Linked DNA regions of Homo sapiens: region 1 is linked to region 2. The links are contacts of gene promoters, found by promoter capture Hi-C in human tissues and cell types (Jung and others, 2019). All regions are on one chromosome and are shown on one strand. The core of a region is centred on a gene start or on the middle of the fragment in contact, and the rest is flanking DNA. Distances in the headings are between cores, read along the strand shown. Region 1 has its middle 7.8 kb from the start of LINC02856. Region 2 holds the start of PPP4R1 (protein phosphatase 4 regulatory subunit 1).

Region 1 (7,329 bases), core at 3,002-5,501, 40 kb after region 2:
GCCAGTTTTATAGAAATATAAGTCTGTGTGAACATATTGCTAGGGCTCCTCCCAGGGCCCCACAGAGGTCTCAGCAAGTGAGAGACTCTTGTCAGTCTTCATTAACTTTCTAGAAAATCCACATCTGGATCTCCAAAATTTGAAATGCTTGGAGAACAGACATCTATTTATTCTTTGTCCTTCACTAAAATACGGTGACTCCCAAGTGTTTTGTATTAGGGAGAAAAGGGACTAGGTTCCGACAGCCAACTCCTTTGCCGTCCCTGGGGTAGAGGGAAAAGGGGAGGAGAGAGGAGGAGGAAGGGAGACTGGGGTGAGCATGAGGCCTGGTGTAGTCAATCATAGCACAGGCATAGGAGCCAAAGGGACCTGGGCTGGTATTCCAGAATTTTCCAGAATTGATCTAGGACAAGTGACTCCACGTTTTCAAGCCTGGGATTTCGCATTTATAAAAAGTTGGTAATAATGCCAATTTCAGGGTGCAGTTTCAATAAAAGAATATGTCTAAAACACCTAGCATAGGTTGGGTACAGTAGCTCTCACCTGTAATCCCAGCACTTTGGGAGGCCGAGGTAGGCGAGGTGGATCACCTGAGGACAGGAGTTCAAGACCAGCCTGGCCAACATGGTGAAACCCCGTCTCTACTAAAAATACAAAAATTAGCTGAACGTGGTGGTGCATGCCTATAATCCCAGCTGCTCAGGAGGCTGAGGCAGGAGAATCACTTGAACCTGGGAAGTGGACGTTGCAGTGAGCCAAGATTGTGCCACTGCACTCCAGCCTGGGTGACAGAGTGAGACTCCATCTCCAAAACAATAAAAATAAAAGTAAAAAATAAAAATAAAATAAAATACCTAGCATAGTCCCCTGCTCCCTGCAAATGTTTAACAATGCGCAGGGACAAGATGTCTGGAGACTGTGATCCTACCTATGGAAAACAGCTTTGCAAAACTTCACTTTCCTGCCTGTAACTTTAGTTCATTTATCTCTACACCCGAAAAGAAGAAGAGACTGCAAGAAATGTTGGTGTTGGAAAGGACATCAAGCATTACGGAGAGGACGGATATAAGTCTGTGTAAGTCTTTTGTAAGTGGTAAAATTCAACGCAAATGGGAATTTGTGTTGATGTCAGCTTGACTGTAGAGATGGTGCATAGGTTTTCAGCTGCTAGCCAGGTATAGTGTTTCCAAAGGATAAAGGTAATCAGATTGCTGGAGAACAGGGACTAGAAAAGCAGGTCAGCTGAAATAACTTAGTGTGGGTATTTTTACTAAAAATTGGTCAAATAGAATCCTTTTAGAGACAAATACTGAAATATTTACAGGTGAAGTGATGTGCTGGGAGTTGTTTCCCCAGGGGGCAAGTGGTTGAGGATACTGACAAAGGTGGCCATCTCACTTCTTTGGTATATGTCTGCAATTTTCAAAGTAAAGTTTTAAAAATGATCAGATAGATAAAATCATTTATTCTATCATCAAGCAAATGTCAAGATATGTCCTTTGCTGTGACCCCCACCCACCCACCTGCCAAACTAACCTCACTGGCATTCCTTAATCCCTCTGATGCAGTCCTGCCTCTGTGCCCTAGGAACGCTGTTGACTCAGCAGGAGGCATCTTGGCTGATGTAGAGGTTCCCTTACTTTGAAGGTGTCCTTGTTGGGGTGCCCTTGTCTGCTGTCATTATCCTCTTCTAGTTCCTGCCCCTACCTTGAGCTTCAGGACTCCTGTATGACCTGGTTCTTTTTTTTTTTTTTTTTTTTTGAGACAGAGTCTTGCTCTGTTGCCCAGGCTGGAGTGCAGTGGCATGATCTCGGCTCACTGCAACCTCCATCTCCTAGGTTCAAGCAATTCTTCTGCCTCAGCCTCCCCAGTAGCTTGGACTACAGGTGCCCGCCACCACGCCTAGGTAATTTTTTGTATTTTTAGTAGAGACAGGGTTTCACTGTGTTAGCCAGGATGGTCTCAATCTCCTGACCTCGTGATCTGCCCATGTCAGCCTCCCAAGGTGCTGGGATTACAGGCGTGAGCCACCGTGCCGGCCTGACCTCCTTCTTGACTCATAGTCTTTATCCGACCTCCCATACCTGCTTGGCCAGATGCATTGCAGAGGACTTACTACCCATGTGCTTCTGGTCTTCTGACTTCTCCCTTGAATACGGAATCTGGCAATTAAGCAACTCCCAGGTTCAACCCAATTTCATGCTTGGTGCATAATTCCCACCCTCCCCTGACAAGTCTCCATGATTAACTGGAGCTCACAGTTCACAGTGACTCTGAAGGAGAAAAAAAACAATTGCGCATTTTCAACTCACAAGAATAACGTGCATTTCATTTCTTTGTAGTTTTATTCTGGAATTTTTAATTTACTATTTCTTTTGCTTTGAATGTATCAATTTCCAGTCATCTTAATGAACTCATTATAGTAAATCTCTGAAGCATTTTATTTTACTTCACTTTTAAAAATTTGTATATTTTTCCTTTTGTTTGTATTTTTTATTATCATAGTAATCTAGACTCTGACATTAGAATACACAGTATCTATTAATTTCCTATTGCTTCTGTTAAAAATTACCACAAACATAGTGGCTTAAAGTAAAATGCATTTATCCTCCTACAGTTCTGGAGGCCAGAAGTCTGGAATGGGTCTCTCTGAGCTAAAGCCAAGGTGCGGGCAGGGCTGAGCTCACTCTGGAGGCTCAGGGGAGAATCTGTCTCCTTGCCTTCTTCTGGAGGCCACCTGCATCCCTTGGCTGGTGGTCCCTTCCTCTATCTTCAAAATCAGCAGTGCAGCATCTTCCAGTCTCCCTCTGCCTCTGACCTGTTTCATCTGCCCACCTTCCACTTTAAAAGACTCTTGAGATTCCACTAGGCCAACATAGTCCAGGATAATCTCCTGTTTTACAGTCAGCTGATTGGCAACCTTAATTCCGTCTGTGACTTTAATGCTTCCTTGCCATGCAACATATACACAGATTCCAGGGATTAGCATGTGGACATTTCTGGAGGCCATTATTCTACCTGCCACACAGCATATTAGAGATTGAATGTCGTTTTTAAGAATATCCAGGGCGAAATATATCCCAAGCATGAAGTGGTTGATTTAATAAGAACCATACAAGGGACTGGATGCTGTTCAGTGAAATTTGTCTAAGTAAACTGGCAACTGAAGCACTCATGCTCCTAGCACCATCAGTTTACAGCTTAGCTTTTCCACAGGCTCCAGATTTCTGGCTACCCAGGAAGCTCCCTTGTTGATCTGGGGTGGACTCCTGATCCTTGTGATGCTGCCTCTCGGGTAACAGACTCAATGTTATACACTTGGAAGTCACTGCTGTTGACCCGGCACAACCCTGGCCTTGTTCTCCACTCAGCCCCAGGGCACCAGCTGTGCCACACAAGACCATGTGTCCAAGGGATGTGGCCTCAGCGTCCAACACAAACATGGCCACTGGCATTGTGCCAGGTGCAGGAGACAGACAGCAGAGACAAGAATTCTAACGCTGGAAGGGAATTTAGAAATTGTCTTGTATTTATTTATTTATTTATTTATTTTGCAGTTTATCTTACAGATGAAGAAAATGAGGCCTCGTGATGCTGAGTAATTTTTAAAAGACATACAGGCGGTGTCAGAGCACTAGACCGGAAGCAGGTTTTTTTTTTTTTTTTTTTTTTTTTGAGACAAGGTCTGGCTCTGTTGCCCAGGCTGGAGTGCAGTGGTGCAATCTCGGCTCAAGTGATTCTGCCACTTCAGCCTCCCCAGTAGCTGGAACTACAGGTGCACATCACCACACCCGGGTATTTTTTTTTTTTTGTAGAGATGGGGCTTTCACCACGTTGGCCTGGCTGGTCTCAAACTCCTGACCTCAAGTGATTCACCCACCTTGACCTCCCAAAGGGCTGGGATTACCGCTGTGAGCCACTGCACCTGGCTCGGAAGCAGATCTTTGAGGGGCCAAATGGAACCTACCCTGGTTTCTTTCCAAATCGTCACTGGTAACATTTATAATTCTTTTGCAACAATAGTTTTTTGTTTTGTTTTGTTTTGCTTTGCTTTTCTGAGACAGAGCCTTGCTCCGTTGCCCAGGCTGGAGGGCAGTGGTATAATCTCGGCTTACTGCAACCTCCACGCCCCCCTGGGTTTAAGCAATTCTCCTGCCTCAGCCTCTGGAGTAGCTGGGATTACAGGCGTATGCCACCATGTCCGGCTAATTTTTGTATTTTTAGTAGAGACGGGGTTTCACCGTGTTGGTCAGGCTGGTCTCGAACTCCTGACCTTGTGATCCGCCCACCTCAGCCTCCCAAAGTGCTGGGATTACAGGTGTGAGCCACTGTGCCTGGCCAACAGTAGTTGTTTTCAACAAGGTCAATGTCTCTTACGTGTTGCAAGGCTAGAGTCCGTGATAATAAAGAATGAAAGTCCTTTGTTTCAAAAGTATAAGCAAGATAAGATGTAGTAAAATAAAATAAAGTAACACAGTGAAGATAATGGTTAAGGCTGCATTCAAAATAAGCCACTATCCTGTGCTCAGCGAAGCTCAGGTAGTGCCATGTCCTAATTGCTCCCAGATAAGATAGTGGGGGCAAACAGGGGTGCATCCTTCCCCCTAGATCCCAGGATGAGGGGCGAAACTCACTGCTCCCAGCCTACCAGTCCCAGAACCCAATGACATGCAGGCCCCTTGCTTGAGGGAAGGACTGTACAAGCACTTTTCCCAGGCCCTTGTTCTTCCCAAATCGCAACAAAAGGGGAAAAAAAATGATGTGCTTCCTTTGTGACATTTCTGAAGGAACAATTAGTGTTACAACTCATCTTCTTAAATCTTGTATTTAATTGTGAGGCATTCTCCCTATTGGGGAATGACAGTTTGACTCATCAACATTTTGTCAGTCAGTTCTCCCGTGATCAGACATCTGTGTAAGCTGCACAACGTATAAAGAGAAATGTTTCCTGAATAAAGGACATTCAGTTGATTTATGCATTTTTAATTCATAAAAATGATGCCTGTTTGAACAATGATTCATTTTCTGTATTAATACAAAAATGAATTCTGACAAATGGGAGTCAGATGGAGAAATTATGTGGGCTGTTTAATTCAGTTTTACAGTGTTTGACCTTGATATTCTAATTCATTGCCACATAACAGGAGCTTTCATGGGAGGTACTGATTTATTACTATTATTTTTCTTCCATTTCCTTTTTTTTCCTTTCTTTCTTTATAGGAGTCCTGAAACAATACTAGAGAGTTATTTTTAAAACATAGCTCTTTATGTATGTCTGATCAACAGCAAAGTAATTTAGAATTTTAAATAAAGTAAATTTGAGGGTCCTTATAAACCTCACCATGGAAACCAGAGAGTGAATTGTTGCCATGGAGACATTTGTAAGTCCACTATGCCTGGAGTTATTATTACCATATACAGTTGGCCCTTTGTATCTGTGGGTTCTACATCTGTGAATTCAACCAACCATAGATTGAAAATATTTAAGAAAAATCTTCCAAAAATTTTCAGAAAGCAAAACTTGAATTTGCCACACCAAATACTACGTTAACTCCATGAGAATGAAGTGATGTCTAGGCATTGCATTAGGTATTATAAGTAATCTAGAGATGACGTAAAGTGTACGGGAGGTTATAAAGTGTACATAGGTTATATACAAATACTACGACATTTTATATCAGGGACTTGAGCATCCTCAGATTTTGGGTTACCTATTGGAATCAATCTCCCATGGATACTGAGAGATAATTGTATTCACATACTAGCATGAATCAGGTACGTTATGTAAAGCATTTTAAGTTCCTCGCTGAAAGCATGGTGATGAATGAAATTAATATGAAACCCTTCAAAGCACCAACGTCTCCTCATCCTTGGTACAGAAGAAGAAGAACCCCACAGTTCCCAGGCTTCATCCCCAGATCCCTGATTCAGTCTGGAATGGAGGTGGGGTGTGTGTGTATATATATATATATATATATATATATATTTTTTTTTTTTTTTTTTGAGGCAGAGTCTGGCTCTGTCACCCAGGCTGGAGTGAAGTGGCATGATCTTGGCTCACTGCAACCTCCGCCTCCTAGGTTCAAGATATGAGAATTGAACTTAAATGCTTAAGAAAGAACTAGGTTTTTATGAATTTTAATTAATTGCATGTTAATTTTTAAAGTCAAAGGAAATCCCTGACAGATCAACAAGAATTCTGATTTAACCGAGACAAGGCTGGGACACAATTCCTGACAACCAATTCCCCAGAAATTCTTGTTTGTAAGTCAGGGGAGAAACTCACACTGCACAGGCCTCAGAGTCACGTGAGAAGCCTGTTTAAAATATAGACACCCATCCTGGATAACATAGTGAAAACCCGTCTCTACTAAAAATACAAAAAATTAGCCAGGTGTGCTGGCAGGCGCCTGTAGTCCCAGCTACTCGGGAGGCTGAGGCAGGAGAATGGCGTGAACCCGGGAGGCAGAGGTTGCAGTGAGCCGAGATCATGCCACTGCACTCCAGCCTGGGCAACAGAGCAAGACTCCATCTCAAAAAAAAAAATTTTATATATATATATATATATATAGAGAGAGAGAGAGAGAGAGAGAGAGAGAGAGAGAGAGAGAGAGAGACACCCAGGGCCAGGCACAGTGGCTCACGCCTGTAATCCCAGCACTTTGGGACGCCAAGGCAGGTGGATCTCTTTGAGGCCAGGAGTTCGAGACCAGCCTGGGCAACATGGTGAAATCCCGTCTCTACTAAAAAATACAAAAATTAGCCAGGTGTGGTGGCGCACACTTGTAATCCCAGTTACTTGGGAGGCTGAGGCAGGAGAATCACTTGAACCTGGGAGGCGGCGGTTGCTGTGAGCCAAGATCGCACCATTGCACTCCAGCCTGGGTGAGAAGAATGAGAATCCATCTCAAAAAAAAAAAAAGAAAACATGCAATGCGTATGCTTTTGTGTTGGCTTCTTTCACTCCACATAATTCCTGTGAGATGCACTCAAGTTTTTGTGTATTGGCAATTGATTCCCTTTTATTGTTTGTAGTATTCCATTTTGTGAATAGACACAATTTATTTGTCTATTCTTCCACTGGTGGACATATGGATAGTTTCCTGTTTTCATTTTATTTTTTTTTTATTTTTAAAAAGTAGAGATGGGGTCTCACTATGTTGCCCAGGCTAGTCTTGAACTCGTGGACTCAAATGGTCCTCCTGCCTTGGCCTCCCAAAGTGCTGGAATTACAGGTGTGAGCCACCACACCTGGCCATTTCCTGTTGTTACTATTACAAACACTCTGTGGACATTCTTATACATATATAAAACATGTATTACATATAA
Region 2 (6,393 bases), core at 3,894-6,393:
GGTTTTGAAACATGGTAGGAAGGCCTGAAGATTCTGCACAGAGTGCGGTCTAGGCGGTTACCCTCAGTTAGTTCTGGACCCATCCTTCACTCTACTTCAACACCGCCCTTAAACCCGAAAAACAGCATAATGTAAAAGGATTCCAAAACTTAAATATGAAAAAAGTCTGTTGTATGGCATACTCAATAACATAGCTTCAAAAACTTTTCAACGTCATACTTAGTTACAGCTGAGATAAAAGTTAACGACTAAATAAGCTGTCTTATACCCAAGCTCCATCCTCTCTATCATTCTCCAGGTGTAAACTAAACCACATGCAGCATCCCAGATTAATTTTCAAGGGTACTTTAAGAACGAGTTCAAAGAAATTGCCTGTACAAGTTTGGGTTGATCAATATTTTAAACTGGGCCATTTAAGAAAATATTCAAAATATGATATTTAGAATCAGAAGGCCTAGCTTAAAATTCCGTCTAAACTTAGGAGTTTTGTTTCTTTAGTCCCTTTGGGCATTAGTCAACTTACTTATTAGTATTAGAATACCACAGCCTACACATCACAGGACTGCTGTGAAGAATAACCTGTGTATGAAAGGCACTGTAAACTAAGCGTTACATAGCCATTCTTTAAAAATAACATTCTTCAACATATTACTTTGATAAAAGCTTAAGTTCTAATGAAACTCCTTCAATGAAATTATTTTTACAAGCATTGGCTCATCAAATCTTAACCGTATCTTAGTCTCATTTCATTTTAGGAATCTACCAACTTAAATGTGAATCAAAATTGCATCTTTGGAAACTAAAACAGAAATCTGAAATAATTTTTTCTAAACATCTACAATTTTGTATTGTCTCCCATTATTTAAGGAACATAATTAAATATAAAAAGTTAAAAAGGGTTTACCCAACTCTGAAATCTGCTGAGATAACCTATGTTCAAATGGAGTCACTGGTTTGCTTTCAATTTGAAATTCAAAGTATTTCATGATACAGTACTGAAAGTTTCACTTTTAAACTTAAATACATATGGTTTTTATTGCATTATTCTCCTAAACTTTTTTTTTTTGAGACGGAGTCTTGCTCTGTCGCCAGGCTGGAGTGCAGTAGCACAATCTTGGCTCACTGCAACCTCTACCTCCTGGGTTCAAGCAACTCCCCTGCCTCAGCCTCCTGAGCAGCTGCGACTACAGGTGCACGCCACCACGCCCAGTTAATTTTTTTTTGTATTTCAGTAGACATTTCACCATGTTGGCCAGGATGGTCTCGATCTCCTGACCTCGTGATCCGCCCACCTCGGCCTCCCAAAGTGCTGGGATTACAGGCATGAGCCACTGCACCCAGCCTATTCTCCTAAATTTAAGAGTACCTGATAATGATTTCATTTACTTACCTTTATAAGTTACTTGATAAAAGTTTAAGTTCTAATGAAACTCCTTCAATGAAATTATGTGTACACACACACACACACACACACACACACAAATACCATCCATTTTTCCCTCATTAGGATTTTTTTTCCTCCAAAGGTTATCAGTCAAGTCAGTCTTTGACCAACCTTTTCCCCGACTCTGTGCCTCTGTACAGAGACGGGATTAAAACAAATCAAATCGAAAGACCTGAGACTCTTAGCAATGTCTGGCAATGCCCCTCTTTCAAGTCCTAGACTCCAGCTAGGTCCTTTCCTAGATCATCTGCACAACAGAACTTACTGTCTCTTCCCTCATAGTCCAGGTTCTGCATTTAGGAAGGTCAACCAAGATTCTAGAGCTTGACCAGAAAACAATTTCTTCCCATCCCAAGGGCCAACTTACACCTAGCTTGGCTGAAGTAGTAGGACTTGTTTACAACTACTCTGGAGGTTGGGCTCCATACTCTGGAGTTTTACCATAGACAGAGAAACTCAGGCTCACGAGATAACAACCGTGTTATAAGGGCAGCCCAAGCTCCGTTCCTCTACCTTTGGGTCCTCTACCTTCTCCAGCTTCTCCAGGATGTGACAGCTGTCTCAGTCCTTTACCAACCATCTTGCTCTCTAAGGAGGCACCATGGCCCAGTGTTCCCCCTCATTCTTTCTCCCTTCACAAGAGATGGGAAGTGGTCCTTCAACTGGCCATATGTCCAAAAGTCCTTTGTTCCTGAATATTCTGGGTAAAGGTATCACCTGTAAAAACTTTAGTAACTGAGAAAAATAAGCAATTACTCTAACAAAGCCTTCAACCAAATTATGAATATGCAAATAACTATTGTGCCTTCAATGTCTGTTTTATCCTAAATTAAAATGCACAGGAAACAGAATCTTTAAAAAGTTAGTTGCAGCCGGGCGCAGTGGCTCACGCCTGTAATCCCAGCACTTTGGGAGGCCAAGGCAGGTGGATCACCTGAGGTCGGGAGTTCGAGACCAGCCTGATCAACATGGAGAAACCCCGTCTCTACTAAAAGTACAAAATTAGCCAGGCGTGGTGGCACACGCCTGTAATCCCAGTTACTTGGGAGGCTGAGGCAGGAGAATCACTTGAACCCGGGAGGCAGAGGTTGCGGTGAGCCGAGATCGCGCCATTTTGCACTCCAGCCTGGGCAACAAGAGTGAAACTCCATCTCAAAAAAAAAAAAAATTTAGTTGCGAGCATTGGCAGCATCTTTAAGTACCTTCATTCTGTAAGGTTCAACATCAGTGTTTCCTTCTCTGCTCTTCTTTTAAGCTTCCCTTGCTCTTTTCTCATAACAGCAAACATAATCATAATCATCGCTGTTTACCAGGAATTGTTCCAAGTGCTTCAGAGGCACTAACTCATGTACAGCCTTGAACAACTCTATGAAGTAGGTAATATTTCTTATGCCTACTTACAAATGACAAAACTGAGGCATAGGGAGGTTAAGTGAGTTGCCCAAGTCTGCCCAAAAAGACACTGCTAAGACAAACAGAGCAGCCTGGCTCCAGTGGTAACTGTAATACTGTACTGTACACCTAGATTCAAAACTGCTTGTAAACCACTAGAGGGCATGGGTTGTGCCCATCTTTCTCAAAGCTCCATCCCCAGTACCTGGCAGAGTGTTGAAACTCATGGTTGAATTTTTCACAGGTATGCCTTCCCCTCTACACTGTGCTTCTTGGGGGCTAAGGAAGAAACTGAGACTGCATTTCATCCTTCAGGAGTGAGAAGTTTTTGCTCCAGTCATAAATACTTGCTGAATAAATGAATCTTCTATTTACGAAGTCGAACATAAATATAAAAAGCCCTCCTCGAGGTAACATAATCAGGGCCATTTCTCCAATCCTAACCTGGCAAGAGATCTGAAATCAACAGATGCCTTAAATAATATCTCAAACTTACTATTAGGCAGATAAGTGGCTTAAGGTAAACATTAAATAAAATGTTAAAGCTGCCCTTCACTACATGAGTACTGCTCCCTTTAAGAGAGCTGTTTTGAGCCACCTCACTAAAAACACAGACTTAGCAAAAGTTTGGATGTGGTTCATTTACTTTAAAGATAAATTACTCGTTTCAGATAATCCATCTAAATAGTAAATCCCCCTTACTTTACTCAAAACAACCAGGAATCTAAAAATTAAGTTTACTCTGAGTAAGGGAACCACATTAGACAATGCTAAGGATTAACTACAGAGTATTTAAAAGAGTAATTTCAAACTGCAGCCATCTCTGAAATTACTTATACAGGTACTAGACAGTCAATCTCAGCATCCGGTAGGCTTTCCACTAAACAGACCACAATCCTACTATGGTTATCATCTCAACTCAGAACAATTTCTTGGTCCCTTATGTATCCCATGATCTTCGCTTATATATTTTGCACACTCTGCATTTTTAAAATGCATCTCAAAACCTATTGATTTTTTGATGGGTCGCTATTTTGGAAGATTAGCAAGAATAGAAACTATTTTAAGTTAACTGCAATTTGTCACTTCTTTCAATACAAACCTGCTTAACTCTTTTGTCTTTTCTATCGTGACCCAAATTATTTTCTGAGGCTTAGAAAAGTACATATAAGACGAAAAATTCCTTTCTAAATATCAATTCCGTCGCCATCAGGAAATGTCAGAAACTTTGTCTTTTTAAAAATAAAAGCGTCAACTCTTTAAAAACTTCAGTACCTCAAAGGAAAGCTGCACTGTTAACACTGAAGGAGGGCTGGGTGATTTCTGAACATCCGCATTAAAGAAATATGCTCTCCAAACCTAGTAATTCCTGCGGAGGCCACACCTTCTAACCTTCTCGTAATCCACTAATCAAATCGGGAGCATCTGAAAACTGCTACCAGCCAAAGTAAAATGACAGGTATGTCATCCTCAAACAATCCAAAACCGGGTCGGGGAGCCCAGACGGCTAGCCGGGGCCCAGGCTGACCCCCGGGCGCTCCTGGAAGAGCGACTCTAAGGAAACACACCTCCCGCGCGAGCCTCTTCCTTCCTAGAGTGACGGGGGAAGGGGACACCAGGGGCAGAAACACACCCAAACCCCACTTCAAATCCTGCCCCACCGCTTCTCCTTCCAAAACAGCCGCGCCACTGCTGAGCCCGCAGGCGATTCGGGGGCGCCGGGAGAAGAGAGCGAAGGGCGGAAAGCGAACTTGGGCGTTACTCCGGGCGTCTCCCTCCCCCAGCGGAACCTGGGCGCGCCGTTTCCTCACGGACGCGAGATTTTCCCCCCCGATCGCCACCCCAGCCCGCCTGGGGCCGCCCTCGCCCACCGTCCCCTCAGCCAGCCAGGGCCCGGCCCAGGCCTCGCCGCCGCCCGCCCTCCCCGGCCGCTCCCCGCGGACTGCCAGGCCACCGCGAGGCCGGGCCACTCACATCCGTCTGCGTCCTCCTGCAGGTCCTCCTGAAGCAGCGAGAGGTCTGCGCCGAGGGGAGAGAAGAAAGGCCCGGTCAGCGCCCCGGGGCCCGGCGCGACGCCCCCCCCCCGCCCGCCTCCCCCCCGCCCCGGGGGCGCCTTCCCGCGCCGGGACCCCACGCCGGCCCCGGCCCGGCAGCCACTCAGGGCTGCGGCGGAGGGCGGGTGGGCTCGAGGAGCCGCCGCCGCCCGGAGAACAGGGGGCCACGTACCCGCCATCTTGTGGTCGCCCCCTCCTCCGCGGCCGCCCGGGGAGCCGGGGCTACATGGAGCGGCGCGAGCCGGGGAGCCGGTGGACGCGCGCGGGAGGGGCGGCGGGGAGGAGGAGGGCCGGGCTGGCGGGGGCGCGCGCGCGGGGCGGGCCGAGGGCCCGGGCCTGCCGCGGGCGGCGCGGCTCCCGGCCGCCCGGGCCCCCGGCCGCGCCCCGCCCCGCCCCGCCTGCCCCTCCGCGCGGCTCCCGGGCGACCGGCGCTCCCGCCTCCCGCCTTTCCCGCTGCTTGCCGGGTCCCGGCCCGGCGACGCGCGCTCACACCCTCCTCCCGAGCCGCCCTCACGCCGAGCGCTGCGGACGGGGGCGCGCAACCTGCCGCCGGCCGGGACCCTGCGGCGAGTGCCGGAACCCGGCCGGGCGGGGCCTCCCGCGGCCCGGCCGCTTTATTGGGTCACCGGCCTCGCCCACCGCCCTGCCAGCCGCAGCCATCTCGGCGGGCGCGCCGCTCGCAGCCAGCGCCCCATCCCCAGGCCTGCACGTACGTCGTCGGCGATCCGGGGCCGGGGGCGGCTCCGAGGTCGTCGGGGCCGGGGTCCCACCTCCTCTTGGAGGAAGCGCCGCCTCCCCACCCGCCCGGGGCCCTCGCCAAGTGGCTGCTAACAAAGCCCAGGGCCCGGCTGCGGGATGGTTGACTGACAAAGTCATGCCTGCCTAGCCAGCTTCCTCGTGCAGCACGGTGAAGGCTGGGGCGCCGGGTTTTTACTCCCACGTCCTGCCAACTCGAGCTGACAAGGCGGGCAATCCACCAGCGGGAGCGTTGGCAGGCCCGGGGTCAGATCCTGATTCAGCCAGTTAATTGGTAGGAGTGGGGCCCATTTGTAGAATGAAGGTGATAACTGCCTCGTGGGGTTATTGGCATTAAATGAAGAATGTAGGGAACCTAGCATGGTTCTTGATGTCTAGGAGGTGCTCGGTGAAGGGTGCCTATGATTCGCTTTGTCTTCTAAATACTTTTGGCAGCACTTGAGGTGTTAAAGTCTGTATCCCAGACTTTATTAGTCTTGTTGTTTTACGTGACTTAAGCGATTAGCTCAAACGCCCAAGTACAAAATGGGGCTAAACCCAGGTTTTCCGACACGATTCTACCTCCATGGCTCTATCTCCAGCTCCACCCAAGGCCTCCAAAATGGTGTTCTCCTAAAGTGACCAACAAAACACCAAGCTGTGTCATGGTGCCACTTTGGCGATGTGGTCTCTTAGGAGAGGGAATTCTAAGTAGTTAATTAGCTTGTTCCTTTCTACGTTGTAGTCTTGACCAAGGACAATGTGTTG

Evidence for each region. Contacts are between HindIII fragments. The study calls those that stand out against the background at their distance.
Region 1: a contact is called between a fragment that was not itself captured here and the fragment with the promoter of PPP4R1 in region 2, in 1 of the 25 tissues and cell types used here (IMR-90 fibroblasts).

What each region holds. Positions count from the first base shown.
Region 1 is chr18:9,650,201-9,657,529 of GRCh38, forward strand. No RefSeq gene overlaps it. Among named protein-coding and RNA genes, the nearest start is that of LINC02856, 7.8 kb to the left of the region's middle. The HindIII fragment of the contact is 9,508 bases long and covers 1-7,329 here.
Region 2 is chr18:9,609,416-9,615,808 of GRCh38, forward strand. It overlaps PPP4R1 (protein phosphatase 4 regulatory subunit 1), which reads right to left and starts at 5,144. Exons shown (of 20, transcript NM_001042388.3): 1 at 5,063-5,144; 2 at 4,811-4,855. The coding sequence starts at 5,069. PPP4R1-AS1 (PPP4R1 antisense RNA 1) reads left to right here and starts at 5,392. Exons shown (of 3, transcript NR_110773.1): 1 at 5,392-5,599. RefSeq lists an enhancer at 4,261-4,340 and silencers at 4,611-4,860, 4,961-5,230, 5,331-5,840. The HindIII fragment of the contact is 9,629 bases long and covers 1,682-6,393 here.